Linked DNA regions of Homo sapiens: region 1 is linked to region 2. The links are contacts of gene promoters, found by promoter capture Hi-C in blood cells and fetal thymus (Javierre and others, 2016). All regions are on one chromosome and are shown on one strand. The core of a region is centred on a gene start or on the middle of the fragment in contact, and the rest is flanking DNA. Distances in the headings are between cores, read along the strand shown.

Region 1 (5,730 bases), core at 1,284-3,783, 160 kb before region 2:
TCAGCTCTCTTTCACCTCCCATCAAGACCTTGCTTACATATTTCTCCTATGCCTGTCCCGCCAATATTCTCCTCTCACAACTTGAGTAGGTCTAGTCCATGTTAATACTATGAAGGAAAACTTGGCAGAATCTAACAAAATGGAAAAATGCACTTACCAGGCATCAATAAGAATTCATGTTTAGCTCAAGAGATAACACAATCACATATAAAAATATTTATAAATATATGTACATACATGAGTTAGTCCACACACATGCATCTCCTTAATCTGTCAACTGAGAGGGCCTAGAAGCAGTGACACCCCAAGTAGCAATAAGCACTCTTTGTGCTCAACTCTTGGTTTCTAATACCACTCTCCTTTAAAGACAACCAGGGCTCCTTGGAGAAATGGCTCATTATAGGATTGGAACAGAAAATATACACAATGAACATGGAATGCACCTTCTAGTGCCAGAAAAGAAGAAAGTACTTAGAAAGACAAAAACAAAAGCAAACTAAGATGGGTATGTCAAATGGACACAGGACACAGCTGAAAGAGCTCTCAATGGACAAAGGTGGAACAAAATAGAGTATTATAAACCAAAAGATGAAGTAAACATCTATGAATCAATACTGATAGAAATGCTTGAATACATACATACATTAATGAATGAAAGAATAGTAGGTAGGTAGGCAGGTAGGTAGGTAGGTAGGTAGATAAGAGACAAATCACCCATGCAGAAGAATTTTAAATAAGTAGATACTCTGCCCTCAAGGAGGGGGATGGTTAACTCCCCACTTCTTAAGTGTGGACTGTCCATATTACTTCCTTCCAAAGAGTAAAGTGTGGAAAGGGATGGGAGGGAAATAACTTTACACTGTAAAACCTGGTAAGTGCTACCTCAGCCAGGTGATCAAGGTTAACATCAATAGTCATAAGTCATGGTGATAGCATGTACCCTTGATGTAACATGATGAGAATGACATTTGACTTCTGTAACCCTGGTCTAACCATAAGAAAAATATCAGACAAATTCCAACAGAAGATAACCCTACAATATACCTGACTAGTACTCCTCAAAACTGTCAAACATCACTGAAACTGAGAAAATGTCACAGCCAAGAGAAGCCTAGGGAGATATGAGAACTAAATGTAATATAATATCCTGAATAAGATCCTGAAATGGAAAAGGGTCATTAGGTTAAAACTAAGGAAATCCAAAGTATGGACTGACTTTTATAATAATCAATATTGGTTCATTAATTATAATAAATGTATCATATTAATGCAAAATGTTAATAATGGGAGAAACTGTTTGCAAGGGTGAGAGAATGCATGGGAACTCTGTACTATCTTCTCAATTTCTCTGTAAATCTAAAAAGTTTTTTTAACATTTTTGAAATAAAAACAAGGGACTGGCCAAACTGTGGTACATCCACACAATGAAGGACTAAGAGGCCACAAAAAGGAACAGAGAACATCAAGTAATCACTAGGATATTGTTAAGTTAAAAAAAAAGGCAAGGTATCCAACAGTATATATAGTATGCTAATTACTATGTAAGGAGAAAGAAGAAATAAGAAGATATAAGTATTTGCATATTTTTTGCAAAAATAAAAACTGGAAGATTAAAAACTAGTAAGAAATGGTTACATCTGAAGATGGGGTAAAGGGAATTGTGTGAAAAGATGGAGATAGAAGCAAAACTTCTGCACATCTTTATATAGTTTTGACTCTTGAATATGTCAAGGTATTACATATTCAAAATATAAAATTAGTTCATAAGGGAAAAAAATCAAACCCTAAAATGGAAAACAAACTGAAACAGTGTACCTTACTGCAGAGAGAATCATTTTAAGTGAAACACAGTGTAAAGCTTAAAAAAAAAAAATTTCACATACTTTTAATGTATCAGATTATAATTCTCAAGCCAATATGTTTGTAGCAAGATGAAGCAGGTAAGTAACCATGTTCATTTACTAGAAATCATTTGATTGTTCATGTAATAGAAATGAAATAAACATAAAATTGAAGAAATTACTAAAAACTCTTTCTTGTTAAATAGGAAATGCTAAAGATAAGCTGGAAATAGGAAAACCCCCACATACATGCACACACATGCAGATATGTGTGTCTCCATCCATTTACCCACTGATGGGGCCTAGACACAACATCCCAGTAGCAATGAGCACCTTTAGCACCCAGATCTTGCTTTCTAAATACCATTCCCCACTAGAAAGAAGCAGAGTTCCTTAGACAAAAGGCTCTTTGGAGATCTGAGGCAGGAAAATTACAAGCGCCTGGGACATCTTTCTGTGCCAGAAAGCAAGGAGATGTCCCATGACAAATGGTGTCATGTCAAAAGTTTACAAGGAGCTAGAAGGGTCTCTGGCCAATTTTGGGGCAATTTTAACACGAAATTTAACAGAAGTGTACTTGGTTGTAAAATACAGAATAAATAAAACTTCATGAGCCCATAACAATGATCAAAAATAAACTTTTTTTCGTTCTTTTTTTTTTTTTTCTTTTTTTTTTTGAGACGGAGTCTACCTCTGTTACCAGGCTGGAGTGCAGTGGTGCGATCTCAGCTCACTACAACCTCCGCCTCCCAGGTTCAAGCGATTCTCCTGCCTCAGCCTCCTGAGTAGCTGGGATTACAGGCACATGCCGCCATGCCCAGTTAATTTTTGTATTTTTAGTAGAGATGGGGTTTCACCATGTTGGCCAGGATGGTCTTGATCTCCTGACCTCGTGATCCACCCACCTTAGCCTCCCAAAGTGCTGGAATTACAGGTGTGAGCCACCGCACACAGCCTAAACTTTTTTAATAAATAAAAAAATAGAGAAACATTTTTCACCACTGTGGAGATGCAACAATTTCTACTCCCAAAATTGAAATCAAAGGAAAAGAATTTAGCATTTATTCTGCCTTTTTTAGAAAGAACTGTAATTTATCACATGAGAGAAAGCCCTCATTTACTGAAGAATGCCTACATCTTGCCATTCCCAAAGAAATAACTATTCCAGGCTCAGTTCATCAACAGATGTTAAAACTTTTAGGTAAAAGATTATTGAGGAATGGAATAGCTGCAGGTACCAAAGTCTCACCCCCAATAGCCCCATTCCTTCTATTGGAGAATGGTTTTTACCAGATAGCCAGAGTTACCTCACCGGTTAAAACCTATTTTTCATGCCTAAGCAAAGTGTGAATTTAAACTAAGCTTATACAAGCACTTCTGTCCAATCTTCAGGATTACTTTCAGCATAAACAAGGCAGATATCGCCTTTATGACAAATGAGATAGAAGGAACACTGTGAAAATGTGGAGGCAATCTTGACAAAACTAAACGCTTGTCCCTGGAATCAAAAAAGTTAGTATGCAATGTCTTCACAGACCCAAACTGCAAGTAAGCTGGTAGGCTTAGATAAGAAACCAGACTGTCAATTATGAGTTTAGCAGGACTTATTTTTGCAGTCCAAATGGCTCAGTGAATATGTCACAAATTAATTACCCACTGTGAAAGAAGGGTGGCTGTTTATTCTTTGTATTTTGGGAGCGATAAGGATAGTGGTTACAAGAGTATAGTCAACCAAGAAAAGTCTCTCATCTGACTCAAATCCCCACAAAACCTCAGGTGGCACAGAGGAAATGACTAGGGGTAAACAGAGCAGTGCCCCAGGCAGTTTAACCACGAAGCATTTTAAGCTTCTTTGAATCTATCTGTTCCCCCAAAAAAGACCTCATGCGCATGATATGTCTTGTCACTTTTCACCATATTGAATACCCAAAAATTCCTAGGCAGAATTAAGGCTGCTCATCTTGCAAGCAGTTTCATATTTCTTTCTCTAGTTGCCATGGCACCCTGGACTTTGCTTTGCTCCTCCTGTTCCCCATAGCACCCATGAGAACAAGAGTTCTGACTCCTCAGATGCTGCTCAGAGCCACCAGTCCCGCAGCCTGCTTCCTGCCAGCATCTTTCCACCTAGAGATGCTTGTTGCCTCCAGTGGCCCAGACCCACACCACACACAGGCCACCAGCAGCTATCACCTCACAGCGAGGAGTGAGGAGCAGGCACTCTAGTGGCAGGTGCCTGGGCAGGGATCCAACTCCATCTAGGCCAGCAAGTTACTTAACTTCTCTGAGACTCAGGTCCCTCATACACAAAATGGAATAATGAAACCTACATTGCAAGGTTACAGATAAAGTCTGCAAAGTTCCCAACGGAGTAACACAGGATAATCAATAAATACTGGCTGGTAACAGCAGTTCTAAGTAGCAGTTGTCGCATATTATCAATGGTCTACATTTACTGTATGCCAGTCACTGTTCTAAACACTTTAAAGGTATCGATTCATTTCATTCTTAAAAAGTACTATCAGGCCAGGTGTGGTAGCTCACGCCTGTAATCCCAGCCCTTTGGGAGGCCAAGGTGGGCAGATCACCTGAGGTCAGGAGTTCAAGACCAACCTGGCCAACATGGTGAAACCTCGTCTCTACAAAAATTAGAGGAGCACGATGGCAGGTGCCTGTAATCCCAGCTACTTGGGAGGCTGAGGTGGGAGAATTGCTTGAACCTGAGAGCGGAGGTTGGCGTGAGCCGAGATCACACCAATGCACTCCAGCCTGAGCAACAGAGGAGACTCCATCTCAAATAAAAATAAATAAATAAATAAGTACTGTCAATTATCCTTATTTTTTTACAGACAAGAAACTGAGGGAAAGAGTCATAACAATAATAGTAATAATAAACCCTTCCATGGCTTTTCATCATGCACCAGAGGGAACTCACATATCTCACTCTGGCAAACAAACCTTCACACAGGCTTTCAGCACCTCCCCACTGGTAACTGATGCTCAAGCTGAAGTTAAATCCTGGAGGTGCAACAAGTCAAACTATTTGATAACGTATTTCTCTGCAGACTTCATCCTTCTGTCAGAAATGCCCTTCCCTGAACAACAGCCCACTCCAGCTGTGTCCTCCTAGGAAGCGTCTCTTCTTGCAAAAGTATACACCTAAGTCACTTCCTCTGTGAATCTCCTGGATGTCCCAAGTTCCCTCAGTGGCTTATTCCTTAAGACTTCCTCTGTATTTTCTTCCTGTCACTATGAAGTCTTCCTTCTCTAATATTTGATTGTTTGGATGCATGTCCCCTACTCATACTGCAAATACCTAGAGGGCAGTGATTACACTGTCACACTCTTGTCCTCACTGACCAGTGGTGTCCAGCACAGGCTCTGGAGCCAAGTTTGGACACTTACGCTGAGGGGTTCTGTGCACCACCTGCACATCACCATCCTCATCCACGAAATGAGAATAACGTATCTCTTTCACAGGCTATCTGAATAATAAGTCATAAAACGGACAAAATATACATAGAACCCAGCAAACATTTACTAATGAAATGGGGAACACTGTATCACTGCACAACAGAAGAACCGTGGCAGAGAGCCAATAGACCTGGTGAGGGACTGACCATTTTCAAACAGGCCAAAAAAAAAAAAAAAACAACCCCACAACAGCAAGGGATGGGGCATTCCCATGGCTGACAAGCTTCTCCAAACAACCTAGATCATTACCCAGCACACATCGGGAGCTGATTCAACCTTGAAATGCAGTTAGCACCGTATCCCTGCTTATCACAATACCGGGGATTCCATAAGTGCTCAAGAAATGCTGTTAACAGTGACAGCAATAACAGCAATAAATGCTGTAGTTATTATTAGTTGATTCAGCAACAATAAGACT
Region 2 (5,967 bases), core at 3,394-5,893:
GCCAGATTTTGCTTTAAAGATGAGAAAAATGGGGTAGATTTACAAAGGCCTCTTGTCTTAGAATAGGAAGCTTGATAGACCCTTGTTGAATCTCTCTTAGAGAGGCCTTGGAGTATAATGATCCATTTGGAGGAAAATCAAAATCAGTACTACCAGTGACAAATCAGACAAAACATAGAACCTCTCATTAAATAATCTAAAAATTAATAATTGGAATAATCAGCCATGCAGTGTCCCTGGGCAATGCAATATTCCGTAATAGCTAACAGGTTAGCACAGCAAAGAAAAAAGAGACATAATCTAGCAAATGGCCAAACTGTAGTTCTATGGCTTATTAAATTTTTTTTTCTTTAGTTAAATGGGAACTAAAGGAGCCAAACTGTGCTTCTCGAAGCTGTCTTTCACGTTGGGGATAGGACACTGTAGGGAGTAGGGAGCTGGGGAGCCCAGTGACAACTCCTTGATCACCCACCCTCCCAGTATAGCAGCTCGATTTTTGTCTTATTTCACACAAGTTGTGTTGAGGCAATGGTTTTTCTTCTTAAAAATGATTTGAGAATCACCTATGCAGCCCAGACCACTCTTTTCATAAATATGTAAAATTAATGCCAGAGAAGGAATTCTTAATTTAGCCATACAGCTGGAAATAGACCCTGGACAGGATCTTCCCATGCCATGCTATACTGTCTCTTATACTTGGCGAACAAACCAGGTGAGAATTTGCATCCCTTTGTAATGGGGCTGCTTTTTTTCTTTTGTTTTCAAATGGTTATAAGGAAAAACTGATGCAGCCAAGTTAGTGTGAGAAGAGGCACAAATGCTACACTGGAAGTGAAAACAGAGTCTGCAATTGTGCTCCTTTCTCTACAGAATCTCTAGTCACTCTGAAGAATTATATCATTATCCAGCACCTGAAAGGGGTCAGAGGAGGGGGAGGCCTAGTTCCATTTTCTTATGTCACCGAATGTATTCCTATTAAGATTGAGAGAAGTAAAGATTTCAGCAGGATACTTGGTGAAAACTTGCTGACATTAATGACTCAAATTCTCAGAGAGACTGCAAGGAAAATGGTGTCATCACTGTCATTCAAGACATTTAAGATGAAATTTCAAAAGAAGGCTGTCAGGCATAATGACTGCCAGGTTCCATTATATCATTCTCAGAGGGTGGATCACACACACTACTACGCAGCCTGTGGGTGGCTGATGCTGAAGTTTGAAAGGAAGCTGCATGGAGAAGAGGTGAGGGGGGCTGCCTCACATGAACAGGATACAGCACCATTGATATTCATATGGTGATTTGGGGGTAAATCTATGAATCGGGGCCTGGTCTTTTGTTGTGGATATGCTGAAACCTAGTGCTGAAAAAATGTAGGAAAGTTTGAGCTGTAAATGGTAGTGCCTATTTATTAATTTGCTATGAGCATATTCCTCTCTAGCGACCCAGATGCTCATGTCTGTGTGCATTCCAGCACTGAGATGCCTGCAAAGCCTAGTTTGTAATCAGTAGATAGCCATGTGAAAAGGAGATAAGGGCAGTGGCTTCCAACCTTGGCTGCACAATGCAATCACCTGGGGTGATTCGACGCTAAGGCCATACTCTAAAATCAAATAAATCTGAATCTCAGGGATGAGGACACAGACATCAGTACTTTTAAAATCTTCTCAAGTGATTCTAATGAGCAGCAAAACTGAGAACCACCGTGTCAAAGCAAAGGGTGAGGTTTTAGGCCTCAAAGGGTGAGTCTCACCCTTTCCACTCAGGGATCTTTTATGTCATAGAGCAGTGGGTTTGATTTGGTTTTGTTTTAAATCAGGAGTAGACATAGGTTTGCCAGTTTCTAAATTTGTCAAATAAAATCATTAAAAATTCAACTACCATTATCTCATTAAAGAAAGAAAATTTCAACAATAAAAATTAGGAAGGGCCTAACTTCAGGATATAAGAGTAACTCAGTATGTTGTATTTATTTTTCCCATGTCTCTACAGACGAGTGAACATGTCGCTACAGACTGATGCAAACTGATGCAACTGATGTGATCTAATTGCTCTCTACACCCATAATCAAGGCTTTCCTCCTTGGACAGCTTTAGATATACTTGGCTGAGTTTGGGTTAATTAAACCGCTGTCCTATGCTAACTATCCTTCTCTTGCCATATCCTTTAGTAGAGGTTATTAATAGTATTGATTAAGTTGTAGGTGATTTCTTCTCCCAGGCTTTGGAAATGTTCTGTCTCTTCCAATTACAGAATATGTTGATTTAGTAAGCTCAGCTCTGCTTAGACATCTTAAACTAAGTTTTCTAGGGTGACTGTGGCACATATATGCCCAAATAACCACTTATCAGGGGCACTGGCACCCCCTTGTTTTGCTAGTGGACCATGATAGCGATTATTCTAAATCCAGTGGTGAATTCATTGGAGGGCCAAATAAACTGAGATGAGTTGCTTATTCTGTGTTCTAGCAATTATTCTAAATCCAGTGGTGAATTCATTGGAAGGCCAAATAAACTGGGATGAGTTGCTTATTCTGTGTTAAGTTATACAAAATAAAAAAGACTTACTAATATTGTAAACTTTATTTTAAGTGCCTCTTTGGAATCTTCTATATGCCCAGTTCTTCTGTGGCCATGTTTTATATTGCCCCTCTTCTCCCCGAAGGTACATTGGCATTCTAGAATGAGTTCTATACTTAGTTGTCTGTCCTTAACGAGACTGGCTGTTGCGACTCCTAGGAGAGGCGAGCTGTGAGAGAAGTTTACCAGTACTCCGAGTCTATACCTCAAAGTTCCCTTCGAAGTGTGCATAATGTAGAGACTCATTTATGCTGAAAATGGTGTGAAATAAGTCTTCATTTATTAATTTCCTCTAAGCTGTCATGCTTAAAGGTGGATCAAAAGAATAGAAGCTAGCATACACATGTGCTTTTGGCCAACTGAAAAAGTTCTATTTACTGATGTCTGTGTTCTTCAAACACTCAATATGTGTAACTAATAATGGGCTAGTCTGCCCCTGTTACTCCTAGACGAACCCAACCCAAACTGAAATGTTTGCCATCTTTTCAAGGTCAGGGGCTTTGCTTGGAATAGAACATCAACCTCAGAAGTAGAAGACCTGGATTTGAATCCCAGCTCCACTACTCTCTTCAGCAAGTTGCTTAAACTCTCTGAGCCTCAATTCCCTTATATATAAGATACGAATAATTGCTTTTTCTTCTTCTTTCTTCTTTCTTATTCTTCTTCCTTCTTCCTTTCTCCTCCTCCTCCTCCTTCTTCTCCTCCTCCCTCCTCTTCTTCTTCCTCTTCTTCATTACTTTATATGCTAATTATGAGAATTACATATGATAATTTAGGTAGAATACTTCACAAGTTGCCAGACATAAGTTCTTACTAAACATTAACTTTGTAGGTCAGAGCTCAGGACAATAACATGGCATATAATAAACATTCACTAGACACTTCACACACACACACACACACACACACACACACACACACACACACACAGTCCTGTGTCTGTAGAAGGAGGAATCTCATTGGAAATGCAAAGTTAAAAAGCTGTTACTGAATTCTGAACTTTAGTTTCCAGGTCTTGACCGTTTAACCAGACCTACCTGCTGCTTAATCTTTGCTCATAACTGTCTCTAGTCTCCCAAACAGATTACCTTTGCTGAGACCTGTGCATTTTTATGATGAATCCATAGAGTCACCTATCTGACCACCATCCCTCTTTCCATCAATATGCCCTTATCTTTACAGATCCTGGTATTCCTTGGACCCAGAAACACATTCCCTTGCTATTATCCTAAAGCAGCTAAGCCTGTTAAAGGAAAGCATTTAGAAATCTAGATATCTGCTCCTGCATTTTCATATTTCTGTATGCCAAGAAAAATTTGAATCAAATTCTCTATTGATACATTAGGTATAAACCATGGATCTGGGAGAAATTAAGTTGGAAGGACAAGGACCCATGGTTGATCCAGAGCACTTAATATTCGTGTAGGACCAAATTCTGTTTAATATTTTTATCCTGCTGTAATTAAAAATTTTTGACATCAACTATCAATACAGGTACATATGTTCTCCCTACCTCTGCTAAAGCTCCTTCCCCCACCACCAAAAACAATAACAAACAAAAAACAAAAATAAAAACATCGATAAGTGAACTTCTCAAGTTGCTGAAAATGTACCATCAGATTCAAGCCTGTTTCTGAAAGTTTCAACTCACCCAATCAGACAAAAGGCTGAGGAAGGGAAACATTTATCAAGTTACACTGAGGACTCCATCTGTTATCTTCGACCTTTGTTACCAAGTGACACAGAGGAGATACTTGAAGGCAGTTTGAAAGACTTGTTTTACAGATTCTTAGTCCAAAGATTTCCAATTAGGGAGAAGAAGCAGCAGAAAAGGAGAAAAGCCAAGTATGAGTGATGATGAGGCCTTCATCTACTGACATTTAACCTGGCGAGAACCGTCGATGGTGAAGTTGCCTTTTCAGCTGGGAGCTGTCCGTTCAGCTTCCGTAATAAATGCAGTCAAAGAGGCAGTCCCTTCCCATTGCTCACAAAGGTCTTGTTTTTGAACCTCGCCCTCACAGAAGCCGTTTCTCATCATGCCAAGCCAACAGAAGAAAATCATTTTTTGCATGGCCGGAGTGTTCAGTTTTGCATGTGCCCTCGGAGTTGTGACAGCCTTGGGGACACCGTTGTGGATCAAAGCCACTGTCCTCTGCAAAACGGGAGCTCTGCTCGTCAATGCCTCAGGGCAGGAGCTGGACAAGTTTATGGGTGAAATGCAGTACGGGCTTTTCCACGGAGAGGGTGTGAGGCAGTGTGGGTTGGGAGCAAGGCCCTTTCGGTTCTCATGTAAGTAGCAATTGCATTTGAGTTATTTAATGCTTTAGGCAGACTCTTCCCAGTGTTGCGAGGAATTATATTTGAGAATTTTGCCGTGTTTACTGCAGGACTTTTTAAATCGGTGTGAACCATATGAAAAACCTATGACTCTGAGCAATTTCTTCTTCCTAGTTTTTATTATTTTATACTTGCTTTTTATTATAATATAGAGTTAATTCATTGTTACATAATTAAGGTTTTTGGAAATATTGGCAATTAAGATGCTTAAGTATTAATATTTATGTAAAAAATTATGGAGTCTTTTTAAAAAAGTAAACTTGGGGAAATAGGAAAGCTGTAAAGAATGATCTTTATGCTTTTTGTTCTTTATAAAAAGAACCAAGGTCATGGGCTCCGTATTTAACCAGGTTGCCACCTTTCTCATGATTTTGTTTCCTGCTCCCCACTCCCTCCCATTATTCCTGCTAAGACCTTTCCTGCTGCTAAATATTCAGTTTTCATTTTTAACTAATTTGGAATCATTTGGCTATAGAAATTTAAAATGATCTGCTGTGCTAACTGGGAAAGAAATGGATGCCTATTTAGTATAGAACATTTTAAACTGATTGACCTGCAAATCATGTAGAGAATATGAGAGAGATTTTCTTGTTGTGATTTTTGTGAAATGGAAGTGTAATCCACAGTATTTATAACCTGTTTATCTTAAGAAGAGAATTTTTAAAAATTACCATGTGAATAGGCAACTCATTAAATGAAAATTAATAGGAAGTCATTTGTTATATCTCTTACAACACACATTCAGAAGTTATTATTATTTCAGAAGGGCTGGTTTGGAACAACCTTATGAAGACACAGTCAGTAAATTACTGCATAAATCACTCTTCAGGAAAGGAGGTTACCAACTGAAGCATTTAAAATGAATTATTATTTTGCCCAGGTTTTTTTTTTCTTTCTAGTATAGGTAGAAGGCTAAATTAATTGAATTTATTATTAACATATGCAGTGCCTAATTAAATTTCAGTGCTGGTCTATTTATATTTCTGCAACATTCCTTATATCTTCTTAGCAGTCATTGGACACCAACCTTCAGCTCACATAGGTTACTAAGTGA

The links. The method cuts DNA at HindIII sites, captures the fragments that hold promoters and counts their contacts. A CHiCAGO score of 5 or more calls a contact.
Region 1: a contact is called between a fragment that was not itself captured here and the fragment with the promoter of CLRN1-AS1 in region 2, in 1 of 17 cell types (endothelial precursors). The highest score is 5.6, in endothelial precursors.

Annotation. Positions count from the first base shown.
Region 1 is chr3:151,133,949-151,139,678 of GRCh38, reverse strand. All of the region lies in intron 5 of MED12L (mediator complex subunit 12L), which reads right to left. Among named protein-coding and RNA genes, the nearest start is that of MED12L, 51 kb to the right of the region's middle. The HindIII fragment of the contact is 1,345 bases long and covers 1,861-3,205 here.
Region 2 is chr3:150,971,354-150,977,320 of GRCh38, reverse strand. It overlaps CLRN1-AS1 (CLRN1 antisense RNA 1), which reads right to left and starts at 4,643. Exons shown (of 6, transcript NR_024066.2): 1 at 4,228-4,643. It overlaps CLRN1 (clarin 1), which reads left to right and starts at 4,594. Exons shown (of 3, transcript NM_174878.3): 1 at 4,594-4,865. The coding sequence starts at 4,613. The HindIII fragment of the contact is 6,166 bases long and covers 73-5,967 here.